2 separate regions of the Homo sapiens genome follow, and region 1 is linked to region 2. The links are contacts of gene promoters, found by promoter capture Hi-C in human tissues and cell types (Jung and others, 2019). All regions are on one chromosome and are shown on one strand. Each heading gives the region's core, a stretch centred on a gene start or on the middle of the fragment in contact. The rest is flanking DNA. Distances are from core to core; before and after follow the strand shown.

Region 1 (6,024 bases), core at 3,439-5,938, 93 kb after region 2:
GGACAAACAGGCTTAATATTAAAACGTAAGATATTACTTTTGAAATCATAAATATTTACAGCTTTCTTTATTTTGTCAATCATTGTACTGTAACTTTTAACCACTAAAGTTGTGTAATAATGCATATAAACAAGGATCAATTACAGATAGATCAATAGATAGACAGATAAAACAAAAAAGGTCATCATTTTCATAAGATGACATTTCACAGATAATAATACATAGTAATGTAGAGATAACATGGATAAGGGAAAAAAAATGAATGAGAGTTTTGTAATGTTTCTGAATTCAAAACAAATATATTAAAATCAACTGTATGTCTTTATAAAAGCAGCAAACTAGAATGAAATATTTAAGAATAGACTACTTATGATAGCATCAAATATTCAATACCTAGGGGTAGGTCAGTAACTCTAAAGATAAGTGTATCAAAATATATTAAGAGGATTTAATGCAAACCTACATAGAATTGTATTAAGTTCAAAGACTGGAAAAATATATATCTATTCTCTCAAAATAAACTTCATTCTGTCCAATAAAAATACCACTCTGGTATTTTTGTCATCATCGTCTTCATTATCATTATCATCATTGTCATTTACTTTGGAGAGTGACAAGAACATCCTCAAATTTTTCTGAAAGTGTGAAAGGCCAAGAATAGTAAGTACCTAGAGCAAAAAAAAAAAAAAATTCCCTGAGGCTTTTTTCAACAGAATGTCAAGACTAGTTTTACTATATGGTAATTAATGCAGTGTGGTAATATTGTAGAAACAGATGAACACACAGTAGAAGATAATAAAATGTTCAGAAACAGACTAAGTTATCAAGAGGTACTTCAATATGGCAGGTATTACACTACAGATACATGGAGAAAGAACATGCCTCTGGATGTATGGAGGTAAAATAACTGCATATCCATATCACACGATATAGCAAAACAGATAGCATCTGAATTACCAACATCACAAAAGTGAACACACACACAATTTTAACCACATATAAAATCAATCCATTGACTTCCTTAAAGAACTTTTAATTATAAAAAGATATAAAACATTGGTTTATGTTGAATAGCCCCCTTTACTTCCAATCACTCGCCATTCACCAATTGGCCTAGAACAAAGCCTACCTATCTCAGAGTTGTGTGTGCATGTGTGTGTGTGTGTGTGTTTGTGTGACACACACAAAGGTGAGTATCTCACTTCAAAATTCCAAGTTCTGTATCATCAAGTTATTGCTACATATGCAAATTATAATACCCCAGCACAATAAAGCATTGAGCATACATTTCTTGCTCACACAACAGTGGATCAGCTGATGTGGCTTTGTTACACACTGCAGCTGAGGAGTTACTGAGGGTAGTCCTGATCCTCATGTTTCTCTTTCTTCTGAGACTAGCAGGCTACCTGGGCATGGTCTTCTTACAGTTATGGTATAAACACAAGAGGGAACACAAAAAGACACATGAATATTGTAGGTATTACTAATATAAGGTATAATAGCAATCCCAGTTGAAATGAGAAATTTATTTCTCCAATGGAATAGTCAGAGAGAGAGAAAGAAAATATTCTCAATAATAATCTAATCTGGATTGTTTTACATCCATCCAACATTATTATATACAGTCAAATTAAAGGAAGTACAGCCATATGATTAAATTAAAGGAAGTACAGCCATATGCTGAATTGAGGGGATTAACAATGTTGAAGTTTGAACCAGGTTTTGCTATAGAGAAAAATATCATATGCTTACAGGAACAAGAACACAGACACACACAATGAGGAAGAGCTTTACTCTGCTTTAGTTTACCAATCTCACTGTAGTGTCCTCCATTTGTGGAATCTAACACTGTGAGTATCATCCAATCTGCCGACTTAAAATACCCAAATCAGAGAAACATTTCAGGTAGCCCGGGCCAAAGCTAAAGATTTCTTTTGAACTAAAATTGTGTGTGTGTGTGTTTTTTTTTTTTATTTTCCCCAAAGCAGATTAGATACAAGCAGTCATGCTCAGATAATTTATTTAATAAGTAATTTATTTAATATGGTAATTTATTTAATAAGTAAAACTAATTAATAGTAGATGTGTAAGTGAAACAGGAAAGAAAAGACAACCAAATAAGATGCACTGACAAGTCAGCTACAACTACAGGACAATGAAGCTTAGTCTCATGAGAATAGTCTGGAAAATAGTACAGAATATAGCTAATAATCACTCATCAAGAATAGATCACACTGGAATTTTTTTTTTTTTTTTTTTTTTTTTTTTTTAGATAGAGCCTCACTCTGTCGCCCAGGCTGGAGTGAGGTGGCACAATCTCGGCTCACTGCAACATCCGCCTCCAGGGTTCAAGCGATTCTCCTGCCTCAGCCTTCCGAGTAGCTGGGATTACAGGTGCATGCCACCAAGCCCGGCTAATTTTTTGTATTTTAGTAGAGACGGGGTTTCACTGTGTTAACCAGGATGGTCTTGATATCCTGACCTCGTAATCTGCCCACCTCTTGGCCTCCCAAAGTGCTGAGATTACAGGCATGAGCCACCACACCTGGCCCTCACTGGCATCTTTTACATCAACTTTTATCACTCATTGAATGAGATCTGTTTGTTTGGATTCATTGCCTCAAACATCTCACTTGCCTCACCTTTGCGATGATCTAACTACTGAGCTTCAGAAAAATTCCTTAGGCAAAACAATGATGATTTGGACAGTAAGAGATTGGACAGTATTTTAGTTATTTAACTAATATTTATTTTCTTCCATAATTTATGAAGATCAGGAATTCAGAAGCAGGTGAGGTGGGTGGTTCTGGCTGAAAGTCTCTTCAGAACTGTGGTAAACTTATGGCTCAATAAGGTTGGAGATTCCACCTTTATACTCACTTCCATGATTATTGGCAGTTCCTCACTGGCTATTCACCAGAAGCTTCGGTTCCTTCCCATGCTTCTCAAAAGGGCAGATCAAAGCATGGCTATTTGCTTATTCCAGATGAGGGATTCAAGAGAACACACAAGCTGGAGACCTTTGTGAGCCAATCTCCCATTGACACACTGGCACTTTTGCAGTATGCTATTGGTTACCCAATCTAGGAGGGGACTACACAAGGGTACTAACCGTGTATTTTATGTTCTATATTCTGATGCTTTGACATCTTGGGCCTTGTGAACCCTGGAGGGATGGGCCCACCCATGGTCTGCCAATTCTTAGAGACGATAAACAACTCACCCTAGAGTTGCAAACTAACAAATCCACAACCACTGCTCAGGTCACCTCCTCTACCAGGCACTCATGCTCTGGGCCATTATCCTCCTTCCTAAATCATCCCTAGGGCCAGGCACTAGACACCTAGGGAAAGCCTCTAGACACAAGGGCCTGCTGAAATTATTCAAGCTAGCCAATTGCAAGTCCGTTCAGCAGTTCCTTTGTAAAGATCCCTGCTCATATTTCACCGGGCGCGGTGGCTCACGCCTGTAATCCCAGAATTTTGGGAGGCCCAGGTGGGCTGATCACTTGGAGTCAGAAGTTTGAGACCAGCATGGCCAACATGGTGAAACCCCAACTCTACTACAAATACACAAAATTAGCCTAGCGTGGTGGCAAGCACCTGTAATCCCAGCTACTCTGGAGGCTGAGGCAGGAGAATCGCTTGAACCTGGGAGGCAGAGATTGCAGTGAGCTGAGATTGTGCCGTTGCACTCCAGCCTGGGAACAGAGCAAGACTCCATCTCAAAAAAAAAATTCTTGTCATATTTCCCCTCACTCCTTCCACTTCTGGACCAACCCTGGTGCTTGTTTGTGTAGCCCTGTGGAACATGTCATGCCTCCTCTTTCTAGGGATCTGTAAGTATAATAAAATTTTTCTTTTAACACAATCATGTCAATGTCTCTATATTTTACCATACCTGATTAAAACAGATCTTGGGGACCTTTCAAACAAATGGATCATTACAAGAAAGTAGAAATTATTGGGTGCCATTTTGGGGATGCTACATGATGCCTTCTGATCTACAATGACTCTTGTCCCTTCGCCACATAAAAAAAACACTCAAATCTTCCCAAGGGCCCAAATGCCTTATTCCACCACAGCATTTTGTTAAAGTTGACAATATGTAATCACCATCAGGACCAAATATAAAGGAAGCTCCATGGATGTATTGTCTTAATTAGAGGTTCTCAAGTCCAGTTTCTCTCAACCTATGAAACTAAGGAGACAAGTAACGGTTACTCTATAAACCTAGCATACAATGTTGGTACTGGTAAGAGATATTGCTATAAACATTCTGGTTCAACATATGCAAAGGAATTACTCATCCATTGGAATTCTGAAGTCCAGCCAGGGAAATTTAGAAATTTCTTTGGTTAAATTGCAAAATCTGGGAATAATTAGCCTAATTAGTCTCGGTTCCTTAGCTCTCACCTCTGGACTTTTGGTACCACGGTCTGAATCATCCTTTCTTCTCATGAAATGTGGGACATATTTGCAACTTAGCAGGTTTCTTAGCTTGTTTTCTTCTAATAGAATTTTGATAACTCATAGGCCCCTTTCAATTTTTTTCAGTCACTGTGTCTTTCAATTTAAGGTAGTGATCTCTCTCTCTCTCTCTCTGTGTGTGTTTGTGTATATATGTGTGTGTGTGTGTATACATGTACACATATATACATAAATGAACTTTGTGGATCTTCTATGAATCTTATTGAATTCCACTATATTAGAGATAAAAACACATCCTTAAGTCTTTTAGATATAAGTCTTTCCCTACCTTGGGCTTCTATGAGATGGCTCAGAGATGGCACACTTAAGGTTCCTAAAAGCCTTGTTGTTGATAGAGGAGGTGGAGCACTTTTAATCTCTTTTGAGAGTCTTTTGTGTGAATATACTCTGAGATACCACTTTAGATCTTTCTGAGGTTTTTCTATTTTTTTTTAAGATTTTATAGTCAAATCCTAGACTTCATCTTTAAATCATGTTTTCACAGCAATGCCATGGATTTGATCATCCTTGGAAACCATTTCTTAATTTTGCCAACTTTTCCCATTATGGGAGGCTAAGAGATTTCATAGCCATCAAATCCTGGATCTTTCAACATTAATAATTTAGTTTGTTTCTTGCCTCTAATGCCTTACTCTAATCTTCAAGGAGAAACCAGGTAGAACTTTAAACATTTCACTTAGAAAATATCTGTTGTTAGATAACCCAGAATATTAGGCACATTTTGTACTTTTCAAATTACTATAGGCAATAGCATTACTAAACATCTGCCCTACATAACAAGAATATTCCTTTCTACAACTTCCAATAATATTTTTCTCACTCACCTGGAATCTCTAAACTGTAATCTTATCAAAGACCTCCAAAACATATTAAGATTTCAATGATATTTTGTTCAAAACTGACTGCTCATTTCCAAAGCCACCTTAACATCTTGGGTTTTTATTTGGCAACAATATATTCCCAGGCACCAAAAATCCACTGATATAGTTTGACTCTGCGTCCCCACCCAACTCTCATGTCGATTGTGATCCTCAGTGTTGCAGGAGGGACCTGGTAGGTGATTCACAGAGGCGGACTTCCCCCTTGCTGTTCTCCTGATGGTAAATGAGTTCTCAGAAAATCTGGTGGTTTAAAGTGTGTACACTTCCCCTTTTACTCTGTCTCTCCTGCCAGCCATGAGAAGACATTCCTGCTTCCTCTTCACCTTTCTGCCATGATTGAAAGTTTCCTGAGGCCTCCTTAGACCTGCCTCCTGTACACCCTGTGAACTGTATGTCAATTAAACCTCTTTTCTTCATAAATCACCAAGTCTCAAGGTAGTTCTTGATAGAAGTGTGAGAACTGACTAATACAGTTGCATTAATTATTCATTGACAGCTAAAAAGTATCCCCAAAACTTCGCAGTTTGAAACAATAAACACTGATTACCTCATGGTTTCTATGCATCAGAAATCCAGGAGCAGCTTAGCTCCAAGTTTAGAGTCTCCCATGAGGTTGCAACCAGCCTTCCAGAGCTACAGTAATCTCAAGGCTT
Region 2 (6,123 bases), core at 2,332-4,831:
CTGTGGTTCATTCATTTACACCCCTTCCCTCATTCTGAATTACCCTTTCCATTCTATCAGGCCAACAAGGTCACCAATTGCTAAGAGAGCTTACTATTGGTGACTGGCATTCCCTTTGAAACAAGCTGCCCAGTGAATCTCATCTTAGTTACCATTACCAAAAATAGCCAAGAAAAATATAGGACTTCTTACTATACAGAAATTGTGGGAAAAATTATTAGATTAAATATGTGATTTGGCACCATGGAAATTTGTTCCCCAGATCTTAAAGGGTGACCACAGCCTTGTGTTGCATTTGTTCTACCAATTTTACCAAGAATCAATTGCATTTATAATTAATATAAAGAGATCAAAACTAAGAATCTTGATTTTTACTGAAGTGTTCAGATACAGAAAGATGTACACACTCTAGGTAATAGGAGAAGAGGGTTTTCCTTGTACCCTGTGCATTGTACACCGCAAGTCCCTCAGAAGCTGTGTTTGTTGAACCTAGTCTCATTTTCATGTCCACTCTCCTAGTCCTTATGCTGTGATCTTGCTGCTGGGGCTTGCAAACTGTATTCCCCAGATGTCCTATCTAGCTGCCTTCCTTTTAGATCCGCCAGAGGAAGTAAGGGGGTAAGGGGAGGAGGGGGAGAAGGGAAGATGAGAAGGAAATGGAAAAGAGAGAAGAAGAACATCTCTTCTTGATTTTCCAGTTTCTCTTAGTGTGAATCTAGCCACAGTGGATACTTGGTGTGTTCCAGCTTTCCATGATAACCTCTTCAGAGGCAGGAGCAGCCATCTAGCACAGCCTTCTTTGGACCATGTCTGAGCGTGCCACAGGACACTGGAAATCTGCTGAGTCCTAACCCAGCCTCAGAGGCCCTGACACACTAAGCGTTATGTCTCTTCCTCAAGGGATTAACACCGGCGGACTGAGCTGCTTCCACGAAGCTCTGAGGTTCTGGGGACAATGTTTCTTCCCTATTGCCCTCTAATATCAAGAGCAATAGTTACTTCCTAAAGTCAACAATCTTTAAATAATACAGCATCTCCTGTGTGCTCTTTTGAGCCTCTAATCGCTAACATTTCATGAATTAGATCCTGCAGAGCATTTGTTTTCCTAAGTAGACCATGACTGCTAGAACATTCGTGACAATGTGGACCAACTCACAGTTCTTGAAGTCTCTCGAAATGTAATCTGCATAGTAATCCCAATATGCTTACCATAAATTCACCAATATCTACTCATCCATGCATTTCATAAAAATAAAAGATTTTTTAAAAACTTCTCATATGCCACTGATGATGAAGTAGATAAAAAGTTAAATAAACCCCAAGCTTCAATGACTTCATTTAGATATACACTGAGTCTCTTCCTGATGTCAGTAAGTACACATATGCTATGAAATTTTAATCTCAATAAAATTCCATGAGGTTAAAACTATTATCCAATGCTAAAACAAAGGAAACTGAGGACCAAATAAGTTAAATTACTTGACAAATTAAAAAACCAGGGTCAAAACACCAATCTCGGTTTTGAAAAACTCAAACCTATTGCTTTTCTAATATTATTACAGACACAAAGAGAGAAGTTTAATTTAAACAAGTAAATAAAATGAGGAAATTGACATAAGTCGTAATGGAATCACAAATAAAGCATTAATGGTGCATATAATTCAACAGGGAATTAAGAAATGTGGTTTAGGTACATATGGAAAGAATACAATAAAAGAAAGTTAAGCCAAAAAAAAAAGAACACATGCAAAGAACATGAGCAGAGGTTAAAAGTCATAAGTGTCAGTAAGCATCTCTTCATCAATAGATTTTAGGGTTAGTATGAAGATAAGCAGTAAAGATAAAGTGAGAGAAGAGGGTTAATTCAGAAATGCTGTGATTCATAACAATGGTTCTAAATTATTATCTGTACATATTTATATTATATATGTGTGTGTGTGTGTGTGTGTGTGTGTGTGTGTGTGCGTAATGTAGGTAGAGAGAGAGACAACTAATAATTATGTTCCAGGGATTATTCTAAGCTCTTTTTATGTGATTCCAGCTTCCTTAATGCAATTTCCCTAGAGTCCGCTGCAATTATTATTTTCGTCATCTATCAAATCACATAGTACCCAAAATTTCAATGACATTGTACACTGCAACAGCAGAAACAAAATAATGAAGAATAAAACAAGAAACATAAAAAATCAAACAATGACAAACACATATATATGCATAGATATATGGAATTCTCATTCTGTACACACTTTGACGATGGTGTAATCGTCATTATAAATAATGGAAATTTTATTTGTAAAAGAATCATAGTTTCCATAAATGGATACTGAAATAAAGTGTAACTCCTCTGAGTTCTTCACTAGATTTGTGAAGGTTTTACAGAAAACTAAATGTTTGTATCTTAATAATGTTGTGGCTCATATCCATTTAAAACATCACAAATTTATTTTTATAAAAGTTGGCTGCAAATTTTGAAATATGTTCAATCCTATTAGTTTAAATTTAAGAGAAACAAAGATAAGTGAATCAAAAAAGGATCCCTCATAACTACTGAGCTCCTTCTTCTCTCTACTCCAACACTGCACCCCTCCTACGAACCTTCACTTGCCACAACTTGGGGATCCTGAATTCTGTGAATAAAATCTTCCCTAGGAGTGAATTTTGGAGCCCATCACTTTTCTGAGAGCTTTGTTCACATCCTTATTTCTCAGGCTGTAGATCAGGGGGTTCAGCATGGGAATCACAACTGTGTAGAACACGGTGGCCACTTTGTCAACATCTCCACTGTTGCCTGAACTCGGCCTGCAATAAATGTAAAGGATTGTTCCATGGGAGACAGTGATGGCTGTGAGGTGGGAGGCACAGGTGGAGAAAGCTTTGTGCCTGCTCTCTGCAGAGTGTATCTTCAGGATAGTGGTGAGAATTAGCAGGTAGGAGGTGAGGATGATCATGATGGTAACACTCTCATTCAAAGTGGCCACCAGGAACAGCAGTGTCTCATTCACAGTGACATCAGAGCAAGCAAGACTTAGGAGAGGGGGTAGATCACAGAAGAAGTGGTTAATCACATTAGATCTATAGAAGAGGATCCTAAGAGCTAAGGACGAGTGAATCAGAGAACACACCGTCCCACAGAAGTAGCAGCAAGAGGTCAGCTCCACACGCAGCTTCTGAGACATGGTCACCATGTACAGCAGGGGGTTACAGATGGCCACAAAGCGGTCATAGGCCATCACGGCCAGCAGGAAGACCTCAGTGACTCCACATGTGCAAAACAAGTAGAATTGCACCATGCACCCTAGGAAGGAGATGGCTTTGTCCTTGTTAAAGATATTAGCCAACATCTTTGGCACAATTATTGAGGAGTAGCAGAAATCTACAAAGGACAAGTGGCTGAGGAAAAAGTACACGGGGGTGTGGAGCCGAGAGCTGACCTGAATCAGTGCAGTCATGCCCAGATTGGCTAACAACGTGACTCCATAGATGAGAAGGAACAGCAGGAAGAGGCAGACTCTCAACTCAGGGACATCTGATAGTCCAAGGAGAATGAACTCAGCCACAGTGGTGCAGTTTTCCTTGCCCATGTCTCCAATTTATGCAGGATTAGAGGAGAAAAAAACCTAAAACTTATTCTCCATTATATAGTCTAAATTTTAGTTTTGGGTGTATCCTGTAAAAAGATATCAGAAGAAGTAGGATAGCTAATTTTTATCAGCAAAGAACAGAAATTTTGGGAAATCTGAAAAAGTTCAACATTGTATAATACAAATGCATAAAACATACAGTTTAATTCAAAGATCAAACAAAAACATTGGCATTTAAAAAACTTATAGAATTCTTTTAATTAATCTTTCTCAGTTGAGACATTGGCACAGAATCATTAGGAAAGAGGTAAAGTTGTTTAATTTGCCTTATGATTATATCAAAATCAAATCCCCTTTTCCTAGCTTACTCCAAATATTGAGATCCTAGAAAATAATGCTTAGAATATATGGTACCCCTCTCTGAATTTTCCACTACAGTGATGGGGAGATATACTTAATTAAGATGTTAATTCACAAGTGTTTATATTTTATTGATATATTTTAGATGAAGAAGCTCATTTTATTGTGTGTATTATCTTTTTTTCTATAAAATTAGCCTGGTGATTTGGTTAATTACACTCTTCAATGTTGGCCATGGTTCAGGGAATTGGTACTCTTGAGCACAACTTATTGTAACTATGACTGTTCAGTCCTAAAACATTTATTTGTTAAATAAATTTACTGCTTTCAATCTATTTGAAGAATTGATCAAAGATGTGCATAGAAAATGATTAAGAAAAACACCCACTACTGCATTGAACTATTATTTGTAATATTAAAAGTTAGAAATAAAATATAAAATAAGAGACGTGGTCACAAATGTAGTATATATAATGGAAATGCTTGCAGTTATAAAAAGGATAAGACTGCGATAAATGATAAAATGGAAAGTTATAATACAGTCAGATTGAACATAAAGAATGTTATATAATAATGTATAATATAAATATATGTATTTATTCTACTCACACACATAAGCTGCATCATATATTTAATCTGTGCAACATCAATGAGCATAAATATTTATTTCAAAAAAATAGATAAACTTACCTGATTCCTCACAAAACATCATTATGATGGAGTGGAATGGGGGAAAAGGATGGAATTTTTAAAATTAGGGACACATACTTTCCAAATCTTCAACACACAGCAAGTGTAAAGTGAGGGTGAGAAGCTTCCTATTCTCTCTCCCTGACCCTTGATAGATGCACACATCATTGTAGAGGCACGAGCTGAGCACTCTGGGCAGAAAAGAATCTGGACTGGAGACCAACAGAGCCAGGTATTTTTCCCATTCTTCAACTGATTTCAAAGATATACAGGAGGCATATAACTAAATGCTAGATTGAAAATTACTAAAATGTTCTGAAGATAAGATTTTCTCTCTTAAAATGACCAGGAGAAGTATGTTACATGTCCTTCCCCAAGATCAAACTAGTACATACTTTCAAAAACCCCTTCCTGTTTTCAAATATAAAGAAAAAAATCAAGCTGTTAATTGCCCATAGAGCAGTGTTTCTTTGTCAGGAGTGACTTGAATCCCAGTGGAATATTTGTCAATGTCTGGAGACATTTTTGGTTGTTACAAGAGGAAGGGGGTGCTATTGACATGTAGAGGGGACGCTGCCAAACACTCTCCAATGACCTCTACAAAGCACATGAAGGTCCCTGCCCACAGCACACACAACAAAACATTATCTGGACCAACATTTTAATGGTGCCTTATTTGAGAAACCTGCCATAGAGAGACATTTCAAAGTGATTTGCACAAAGACAAAATAATTCCTCTTCTTTCTGCTTCAGAGGTGGTTCTCATGTCCATGTCCCTCCATGAACAGTCCCGTGGGCCTCCTACTGCCACCCTCAGCACTAGGATGACTGTTAGGAAAATCTCCATGCAGTCTTAACCAAGTCGCATGGACAGAGTTAGTGTAATAGAGGGGAGAGAGGGAAGGATAGAGAAAACAAGTGCTTATGCCAATGTCTTCACACTGCTTTACATCTCACACTAATAGCTGTTATAAGATGTTTGGTTTTACAGATTAAATAGTTCCCACTTCCCACCAAAATTGTCCCCTAATACACAATGAGAAAAATATTGTCATCAAGGAGTGCTCAAACCATGGCATTTAAAAAAACATTATCTGATTAAGAGAGGGATAAAACACAGACTTAAAAATTATCTAATACCATTACCATCCTTTTGAATTCCCCTTCTGGAGTGTATGACTATAATAAGCTACCTCCATGAGGAAAACACATCAGGCTTCCAGCCCCCAGAAAATATAGTTTATGCTCATTCCAAAAAATACAAAATGTAGTTCAACCAACCATCCTATTGGAAAGACATTGCTTTTCCTTTCTGAAGATGCTATGATGAAAAATATTATGTGTTTTGTATTTTGTGTGTGTGTGTGTGTGTGTGTGTGTGTGTGTGTGTGTGTCCCTGGGGCCCATGTTTCATAAGCTTCCCAAAACAATCACTGATCTCTGTGGGATATCAAATGGGTATCAAGGAAACCATCCTATCCTGGGACTCCAA

The links. The method cuts DNA at HindIII sites, captures the fragments that hold promoters and counts their contacts. A contact is called where the count stands out against the background at its distance.
Region 1: a fragment that was not itself captured here is called in contact with the fragment with the promoter of OR5L2 in region 2 in 3 of the 25 tissues and cell types used here (adrenal gland, aorta and pancreas).

What each region holds. Positions count from the first base shown.
Region 1 is chr11:55,732,727-55,738,750 of GRCh38, reverse strand. No RefSeq gene overlaps it. Among named protein-coding and RNA genes, the nearest start is that of OR5D3, 12 kb to the right of the region's middle. The HindIII fragment of the contact is 4,292 bases long and covers 2,543-6,024 here.
Region 2 is chr11:55,824,677-55,830,799 of GRCh38, reverse strand. OR5L2 (olfactory receptor family 5 subfamily L member 2) reads right to left here and starts at 3,581. Exons shown (of 1, transcript NM_001004739.1): 1 at 2,646-3,581. The coding sequence starts at 3,581. The coding sequence ends at 2,646. The HindIII fragment of the contact is 3,304 bases long and covers 2,099-5,402 here.